Linked DNA regions of Homo sapiens: region 2 is linked to region 1. The links are contacts of gene promoters, found by promoter capture Hi-C in human tissues and cell types (Jung and others, 2019). All regions are on one chromosome and are shown on one strand. Each heading gives the region's core, a stretch centred on a gene start or on the middle of the fragment in contact. The rest is flanking DNA. Distances are from core to core; before and after follow the strand shown. Region 1 holds the start of STC1 (stanniocalcin 1). Region 2 has its middle 56 kb from the start of STC1.

Region 1 (4,364 bases), core at 640-3,139:
GAGCCTGTGTCTTACTATATGAGGTCCTGACATCCCGAACCTTTAGGAAGTATGACTGTGGCTGGTCATCTTCCCAACTCACCTGTAAGTACCTTCAGGACAAGAATAATGAACTTACCTTCTTCTCTATGTCTTCTCATTTATCCTCCCACATTGTCCCCTAGCACTCAGCCCAGAAGGTTCTAAAGAAATACCAATACTGCCTGTTAATATAAATTAAAATGTATTCTTGTTATATAATGTAAATCTGAAAATTCCCTTCCTTTCTTTTAGATATTTCCTGTATCCTTTATTCCTTCTATTCCTTTTTCTAGCAAACTTTCATACTTACCAAACAACCCTATTTTGTGAGGGATAGGCTATCATCACCCAGAACCGTCCGCCGCCCCCCCCCCCCCGCCCCCCACCACCCTATCACCCCACAACATACACAGAGCTGACACTTGGTTTAGTTTGTGGTTAACAGGGGTGGCACTCTTTCTTCAACTTTTGTTTGAAGGTTTTAGGATGCAAAGTAAAGCCACTGGCCCCATTTCTCTGCAAGATTATCCTGCCCAAATCTGTATGAATCACCAGTGGCCATTTCTCATCTACTTCCCCAAAATTATTAAAGGTTTTATTGTATAATACCTTCACCACCTTCCTACCCTAAGAAGTCCTCTTCTGGCTCATTAACCTCCTTCACATGTTGGGGACAAACCTCAGCATTGCCTACAACTCACTTATAAGAAAATATAAGTTTCTATACCAGGCATGATTTGTGATTGCAGTGCAATTTTCCTATTAAGTCTAGAGCTTATCATTCTTCTCTCCTACACATTCTGGTCTTTCTCTACCCCTTCTTTCCATTCTGCCCCCTTTTTTCCTACCCCTCTCCCCAAGAAATGAACTGGTTTCCATTCAGCAGGTTTAGTCTTGCTTTGGCCAGCTTATTGTTTCAAAGTGGTTATAAAGTTGCTGGGCTTGAACACAGATTATTAATTTTCAGGCATTCATGATGTCTCCCTGTTGAGTGTGGTATGTGCAGGTGTGCACATGTGTACCTGGGGTAACTAACACTCCTGGACTATGCAATTTTGCTGGTGACTGAAAAGATGAAGTCAAAGTTGATTTGATTATTGAAGAATCACATTATTTTAGAGGTATACAGAATGTCAGAGTCCAACTTTGGCGTTTTACAGATGGGAAAACGAGGTGGGGCAAGGTAAAAAGACTTAGCCAGAGTCATAGGTTGATCAGTAGGGGGACTAAGGCTTCAGCTCTGAGCTGTCATATCTCAGTCCCCCAAGGCTTTTCCACTCACATAAATTCCCCCTCAAGGGCTCAAATGTGTGAGTGAGAACCCAGGATGTCCACATACAAACAAAAATGCATCATAGACATGTGAACATGTACACACAGAGAAGATAGGGAGTTATTGCATTTGTAGCCTACAAAACAGAACCGAGAATGTGCTGTTAAAATTAGAGTAAAACTGCTGTAAGCAGGTTAAGTTCTCATCTAAAGAGATCACATTTCCCCACCATACCCCTGCTATCCATTTCCCCCAAGTGGCTCATTAGAAAAAAAGATGGCTAGATTTCAAAAAGCAACTTGGAGAGATTTCTATAGGATTTTTCTTTAGTTCAATCAATACAGAGTTATCTCTTACTTCCACGAAAATAGCTTTTTCACACATCTCTGCACACACAGTCACACACACATATAAAACATTGGCAGCAGGTACTTTTAATTTGCTGGAAAATATTTCTAAGAAGTCAAAAAGCTCCAGCTGAATTGCATGCCCTCTTATTGGCTCACCAGACCAGTTGAGGGACCTGATTGGTCCTTGATCCTGAGGACCGATAAGAACGGCTATAAAATCCCTGGGTGCAGCTCTTGGGCCCCCAGTTTGCAAAAGCCAGAGGTGCAAGAAGCAGCGACTGCAGCAGCAGCAGCAGCAGCGGCGGTGGCAGCAGCAGCAGCAGCGGCGGCAGCAGCAGCAGCAGCGGAGGCACCGGTGGCAGCAGCAGCATCACCAGCAACAACAACAAAAAAAAATCCTCATCAAATCCTCACCTAAGCTTTCAGTGTATCCAGATCCACATCTTCACTCAAGCCAGGAGAGGGAAAGAGGAAAGGGGGGCAGGAAAAAAAAAAAACCCAACAACTTAGCGGAAACTTCTCAGAGAATGCTCCAAAACTCAGCAGTGCTTCTGGTGCTGGTGATCAGTGCTTCTGCAACCCATGAGGCGGAGCAGAATGACTCTGTGAGCCCCAGGAAATCCCGAGTGGCGGCTCAAAACTCAGGTAAGCAGCAAACCCAAGAGCGGTTTCTCCCCCAAAGAGCTGTCCTCATTTGCCTCTCCCTTTTGCAACTGTGTCTGTGACGGCTGATCTTGATAATAAATGTGCTTCATGCCTGATGGCAATAAACTGCCAGTGTAATCCAATAGCCTTAGGCAGTGGAGCTCCTTTGTTTAATAAATTGCATGCAACTAAACGAAGAAGCTGGACGCTCTGCTGAGGGTATTTCATTGCATAAGCCTAGCCTGATTGCCTGAAATCTGGCACGTACCCTCTTGGAGGGGGAGGGGTGAGAGGGGAGGAAAGGCTTGAATGTTGGCATGCTTCAAAGCGCTCTCTATACTTTCCAGAAGCTGATCTAAGGTAAGACCTGGCTTGTTTGATGCTGTCCCTCTTCCTTTCCTCTTAAGACTCTACCTCTTCACTTCTTGACTTCTCTACCTAAGAGAATACACAGAAAAGCTCCCTCTTCAGACTGATTTTCAGAACCATAGCCCTCAAGTCTGACAAATCCAGGGCGGATTCAGAGAAAACCCTATACATCCCACCCCCAACCCTGCTGCCTGTCTCCCTCCTGGCTCTGTAGGGCTCCATTCAGTCGTCCCTGCAGCCCGTAGCCAGAGAGCCCCTAGAAAAAAAAAATTGTGAAACGTAGCAGCTGTTTCTCCAAGGGTAAGGTCTCACTTTCGTCTTGACTCTTGGAGCAGTTAATTGTGCATTATCTTGGCTTCTGAAGGAAAAGAATCATTAGGAAGCCTGCATTGACACCTCTGCCTCTTGACTTCTCTGGCTCCACTTGTTCCCCTTCCAATACTGCCCTCTGTCCTCCAACTGTCAGCAAAGACCGGATCACAGGTGTCAAAATGCTGCAGATGATGATCCCCTTGGAAGAGCACAGGTCCCTGCCGAGAGGAGGGCTTTTGCTTCACTTCCTTTTGTACTTAGTTGCTATAGAGATGCAGTGATTCACAATTCGAGCTTGCCTAAAACAATAGCAGCCCTAATGCATATTAAAACTGCTTAAAGCAAAGTTATAATTTAAACCCGTGGAAATATATAATTAGGGAAATGACTTGTAACATCCTAGAGGCTGCGGGTGGTGGGAGGGGGTGGGGAAGACTAACTGAACCATGCTTTTGATCTCAGAGGAGAATCCTATGGCATGAAGGCTGCAGATCATTCCTTGCCTAGCTGCCTGCCAGAACACCCCCCTTCTGTGGGAGAAAAATTACTTTTATGGGAGATCTTATCCAGAATGTAGAAAGCCTCATGCAAGTTTTTTGCGGTTTTCTTCCAGTCTTGCATAGGGAGGCCTTGGCCTGGTTATTCCACACCTGTGTTTCTTCTTTCTTTCTTTCTTTCTTTCTTTCTTTTTTAAAAGGCTTTTAATATGAAAGAGATTATGCATACCTCTAAGCACTGTCCTAGTGGAGGGTTGGGGTGAAACATGAACGGATCAGATTTCTTTTTGCCAATATGACGGTAAGTTAAAAGCCTGAAATCAGAAGGGTCTCCAAGTGGACTCCTGGCACAGTCTTCTCTGCCATTTAGACTAAAATCCCATGCTTTTTACTCGGGAGTGCATTTTTCCAAAGCTAGATGGATTCCCTGGCCCTTTTACCTCTTAAACCTGACCACTAGCCACTGTCTCCTTCCTTCCCATGCTTTCAAGTGCTAAGCAATGACCTTTGATTCTATGGAATGGCTTAAAGGCACTGTGCATTTCCAGACTTGAGCCTCACTTCTCCAGACACCAAAATTGTAGGTAATGGTGAAACAGGGAGCGTGTGTCTGAAACAGAGAACTCCCTCCCTGTCCATCATGTACTCCAGCAATCATAAACAAAAGGAGCCTGTCTATCCTCTCTTTCTCAATCAAATGGGTCTATCAATTGCCCCTCATGACAGATTCCTAGGATAAGTTCTTCTGACCTCATGTCCTTGAAATTCACCTCTGCACCCACTTGATCCCACCCAGCCATTCCTCACTGTTTGACCCAGAATGGATGGATTTGTCTCTTTCAGCTGAAGTGGTTCGTTGCCTCAACAGTGCTCTACAGGTCGGCTGCGGGGCTTTTG
Region 2 (4,272 bases), core at 1,728-4,227, 55 kb before region 1:
ATTAAAATATTCATCAGTTGCAGTAGCTGCATTTCTCGGATCCATAGCCACATGTCACTTGTGGCTACCACATTGGACAGCACAGATATGGGATATATCCATCATTGCAGTAAGTTCTAATGAACTAGACTGCTGTAATGTTTTAAGTTTGTTTATATTTTGGGTTTGGTTTTTAATTCACCTTAAATCCTCTAATGGACGAAGAGGGAAGAGATGAAGAAGTATAAAGCAGTGGAAGCTGTCAATAGGCCAGTTACAATTTGGTGGCAGGAGAATGAGTCAGAAGCGCACTGTCTATTTCCAAAGAAAACCATTTCTTGCCAGACAATATCATTGCCACTGAAGACCCAATACTGCTCCTTATCAAACTCTGGGTCAGCTCAGATTCTTCACCATTTGACAGGAAAATTCTAGGCAAAGAAATGGACATGGGGTGGGGGATGAAAACAAGGAACTACAATGGAAGAACAGTGGTAAAGAAATAAATATTTACTTTTTTCCGTATGATTTAAAAAAAAACAAGAATAGAAACATTACATTCAGTGTGAAAAAACGCAATCTCTTAATATACATGTCTTTCTGTTCCTTTTCCTCTTTCACCTTTAAAAGGCCTTCTATCGATTGATGACTATTAGGTCTTCCCAGCTCTCCATGAGACTGGTACCTAGGCCAGCAATCCTCTGCTATGTAGAGTCAACTTAGAATCACACACACACACGCACACACACACACACACACACACACACAAAATATGTTCAAGCTATCTGTAGCCTCTGTTCCTCAGTAGGGCCACTGTTCTCAAGTTCCTCTCTGCCTGCCTTCTCAGATAAGGTAGGCCTGACATTGTGGAACCTTCATGTCCCCTTTATCCCTTTCCCTTAAAAATCAAAAACAGGTCCTAAATGATTACCTTTTTCTTTCTTTGCTCTGAACCTTGTTCAGTCCCCCCTTATCCAGCAGCTCTCAAAGAATCAGTAGTTCTTTTAGAGTCCATGATGCCAAGATAATTTTTGCCATATTACTAAGACATTGATACTCTTTGGATCTATGTCCCCACTTAAATCTCATGTCGAATTGTAATTCCTAATGTTGGATGTGGGGCCTGATGGGAGGTGGTTGGATTATGGTGGTAGATTTCTCATGAATGGTTTAGCACATCTCCACATCTCTCTTCCTCCTGATCCGGCTGTGAAAGACATGCCTACTTCCCCTTCACCTTCCACCATGATTGTGAATTTTGTGAGCCCTTCCCAGAAGCTGCCATGTTTCCTGTACAGCCTGCAGAACCATGAGCCGATTAAACCTCTTTTCTTTATAAATTACCGAGTCTCAGGTATTTCTTTATAGCAGTGCGAGAACGGACTAATACAAATGTCATTTGCCCTCTTCACTCTTTTTCTTTCACATGTGTATAAGGTATTTTCCTGAAGCCACATGATGTCTAATAATTCCATTGTTCTGATGGTTAATGAAATATGTGTTTCTGTGTTCTGGGTTTTCCAGAACTTTGTAAGGTTGTAGGTTTAGGATATAAACACATATGCTTCCAGAGGTTAGCTCAGTTTGTTCTCGGGATTTCTACTGAGATTTTGCCAGCTACTTCCATTTATACCATCTATAATCTGATATGTGTTATCTCCTTCTGTCCAATAAGCTGTTACTTTAAAATCCCCAAGTTTTCCTCATACCTATGCAGAAGCACAAGAAAAAGGTGAATATACTTTCTGTATTCTTTTGCAAAATTATTTTTCAATTTTTAAGACTTTTCTATTTTATCTAAAACATTATTTTAGGACTTAATAGAATTTTATTCTAAAATAAATAAAAATGCATTTAAAATATGCTTTTCTTGCATTTTTTAGGCTACATTGTTGGCTTAAAGGGAGAAATTAGAGACTTACTTTTTCAACTCACAGCTGCATTATCTAGCTCTAAAATGCTAATAAAGATAATATTGACATATCAGAGTCCTTTGACTCATGAAAGGGAAGAAACTGCCCCAAACTGGGCAAAACTGTAAATAAGAAATAAAAATAAGCAAAAGTTATCTTTTCCTTGGTTTTATAGATAATAATTTACCAGGTGTGTCTTATGTAACAGAATATTGTTGAATGGTATTTTGGTGTCAGTTAAGGTGTGGTATCATTTTGATATTCAGCAGCTAAAGCATTGGCTGAGAAGTGGATATAATAACTGAGATGTTACTAAAGCATCCACATTTGACATCTGCCAACTGCCTACTAGACGAAAAGTCTGTTAACAAAATCATGACACTGCCACTTTCAAAAAACACGTAACTTGATGAATTAAAAATGTGTCTGTAAACAGAAAAACTGAGTTAGTATCTCCTCTGCACAACTGCACTTTTGTTTACAATTCAGTGAGCCTATAGATATGGCTAAACTTGTTGTTTTGCTTGAATTTGTCTGGTATCAGCAACAACTAATGATCAAAGAAGATGTTTTATGTAAGTGCCTGGCAACAAACACAGTGGTACTGACATATTCAAAGTGCTTAATAACTTTTAAAAATCTCATGTTTTATCCTGGACCAACAATGTTGACATTTGCACTGATAGTGGCACAGGAATGGTAGATAAAATTGCTGTTCACTTAGCATAAATCAAGGAAGTGACATCAAACTCTACCAGTGGCCATATTCTTCAACACCACATACTAGCACGGAGGAAAAATGCCAATTTATCTTGAGAATGTCCTTCATAAAGCAGGAAAAAGTAGTAATGTTATTATATTTTAATCTTTGAGTACATGTCTTTTTAATATTCGGTGTAACTAAGTGGGAAATAGGAATAAAGCTTTTCTGCTACACACCTACATCCAATGATTGTCTCAAGAAAAAGCACTGATGTGATTAAACTATGAGCTAAACTACCCGATTTTTTAATGCAGCAACATTTTTTACTTGGAAGAATGACTAGTCATAATACTATGGTTATTTAGATTCGTGCATTTAGCAGACATTTTCTTGAAAATGAACAAAGTGAATCTGTCACTTAAAGAGAAACAATCAGCATTTGTTGCCAATGATAAAGTTTGAGCTTTCAAAAGAAACAAGAATATTAGAAAACTTGTATCCACTGTTATGAGCTTGATAGCTTTCCAATACTTAGTGACTTTTCTGATGAGGTTAGCAATTAATGAATGTGACTTTTAAAAATAAAACCAATTAACATTTGGAAGATTCGCATGACTCGATGAGCTAATATCTTCCAAATCACCAATGCAGGAAAATTATAAAATCATGCATGAATGAAGATATATTCAAAGTGGAAGATAGACCAATATATCTCAATTTCACAGAGCACATAAAGTTCATTGATATGGTTTCATATTCTGCATTGCACCAACCTTTTAAAAATCTCCACTTGTTGAGCTTTGACATATCAAAGAACAGTAATGTTATCTGAAAAGGCAATTAAAATACTCCCTTTTCCAACTACATATCTGTATAAAGTTTCTGCCAAATATACTTTAACCAAAATAGTACATTCCAACAGACTGAATGTATGAGCAAATATAAAAACGCTATTGTCTTCTGTTAAGACACACACATAAAAGAGATTTGCAAGAATAAAACAATGCAACTCTACCCAATAAATATCTTGTTCTGAAAAATACAGTTCTTTTTAATTAAAATATGTAATTTAACATACAACAGTATATTGTTGTTACTATTAAGGAAACTAATAAGTATTTGAATTTTTATCTATTTTAATATCTGCCTTAGTAAACACCAATAAATATGATACACATTTTAAATACCACTTAAGATTCCTTAATAATTTTTATGGCGTGAAAGGACCTACACCAAAAACTTTGAGAGCTGCTACTTGTAGCTATCAACAGTCAACAGTATCTTTGAAGCTAAATGCATCTTGTCCTTAAGGAAGACTTAAGGAAGTCTTACCACCAAAAAGAGAAAGAAGAGAGAGAAAATGATCATTGTGCCTTTTGACATGCTCCCCAGATTCTCAAAAGAGTGTCCTCCTCTGGCTGGCCTCGATTTGGTATCGCTTTACTTCTTTCCACAGAAGCACCACCTGCTGCCACCCACTCACCACCTCTAATCCTGTGATAACGGAAAGAGAGAATGGAGAGGAAAGGAGTGAGGGTAACTTTTATTGCCTCTGCTCTGAGTGTTGGGCATTGTTCTATTTCCTCCCAACCCATTTTTCACTCCTATAAGGATCCTTTATTGGGGACACTAGTGAAGGGCATCGGTGTGACTTACTGGACAAGGCTGGCAAGCCTA

The links. The method cuts DNA at HindIII sites, captures the fragments that hold promoters and counts their contacts. A contact is called where the count stands out against the background at its distance.
Region 2: a contact is called between a fragment that was not itself captured here and the fragment with the promoter of STC1 in region 1, in 1 of the 25 tissues and cell types used here (H1 embryonic stem cells).

Annotation. Positions count from the first base shown.
Region 1 is chr8:23,852,331-23,856,694 of GRCh38, reverse strand. STC1 (stanniocalcin 1) reads left to right here and starts at 1,889. Exons shown (of 4, transcript NM_003155.3): 1 at 1,889-2,289; 2 at 4,311-4,364. The coding sequence starts at 2,172. The HindIII fragment of the contact is 6,962 bases long and covers 1-3,881 here.
Region 2 is chr8:23,908,993-23,913,264 of GRCh38, reverse strand. No RefSeq gene overlaps it. Among named protein-coding and RNA genes, the nearest start is that of STC1, 56 kb to the right of the region's middle. The HindIII fragment of the contact is 5,108 bases long and covers 424-4,272 here.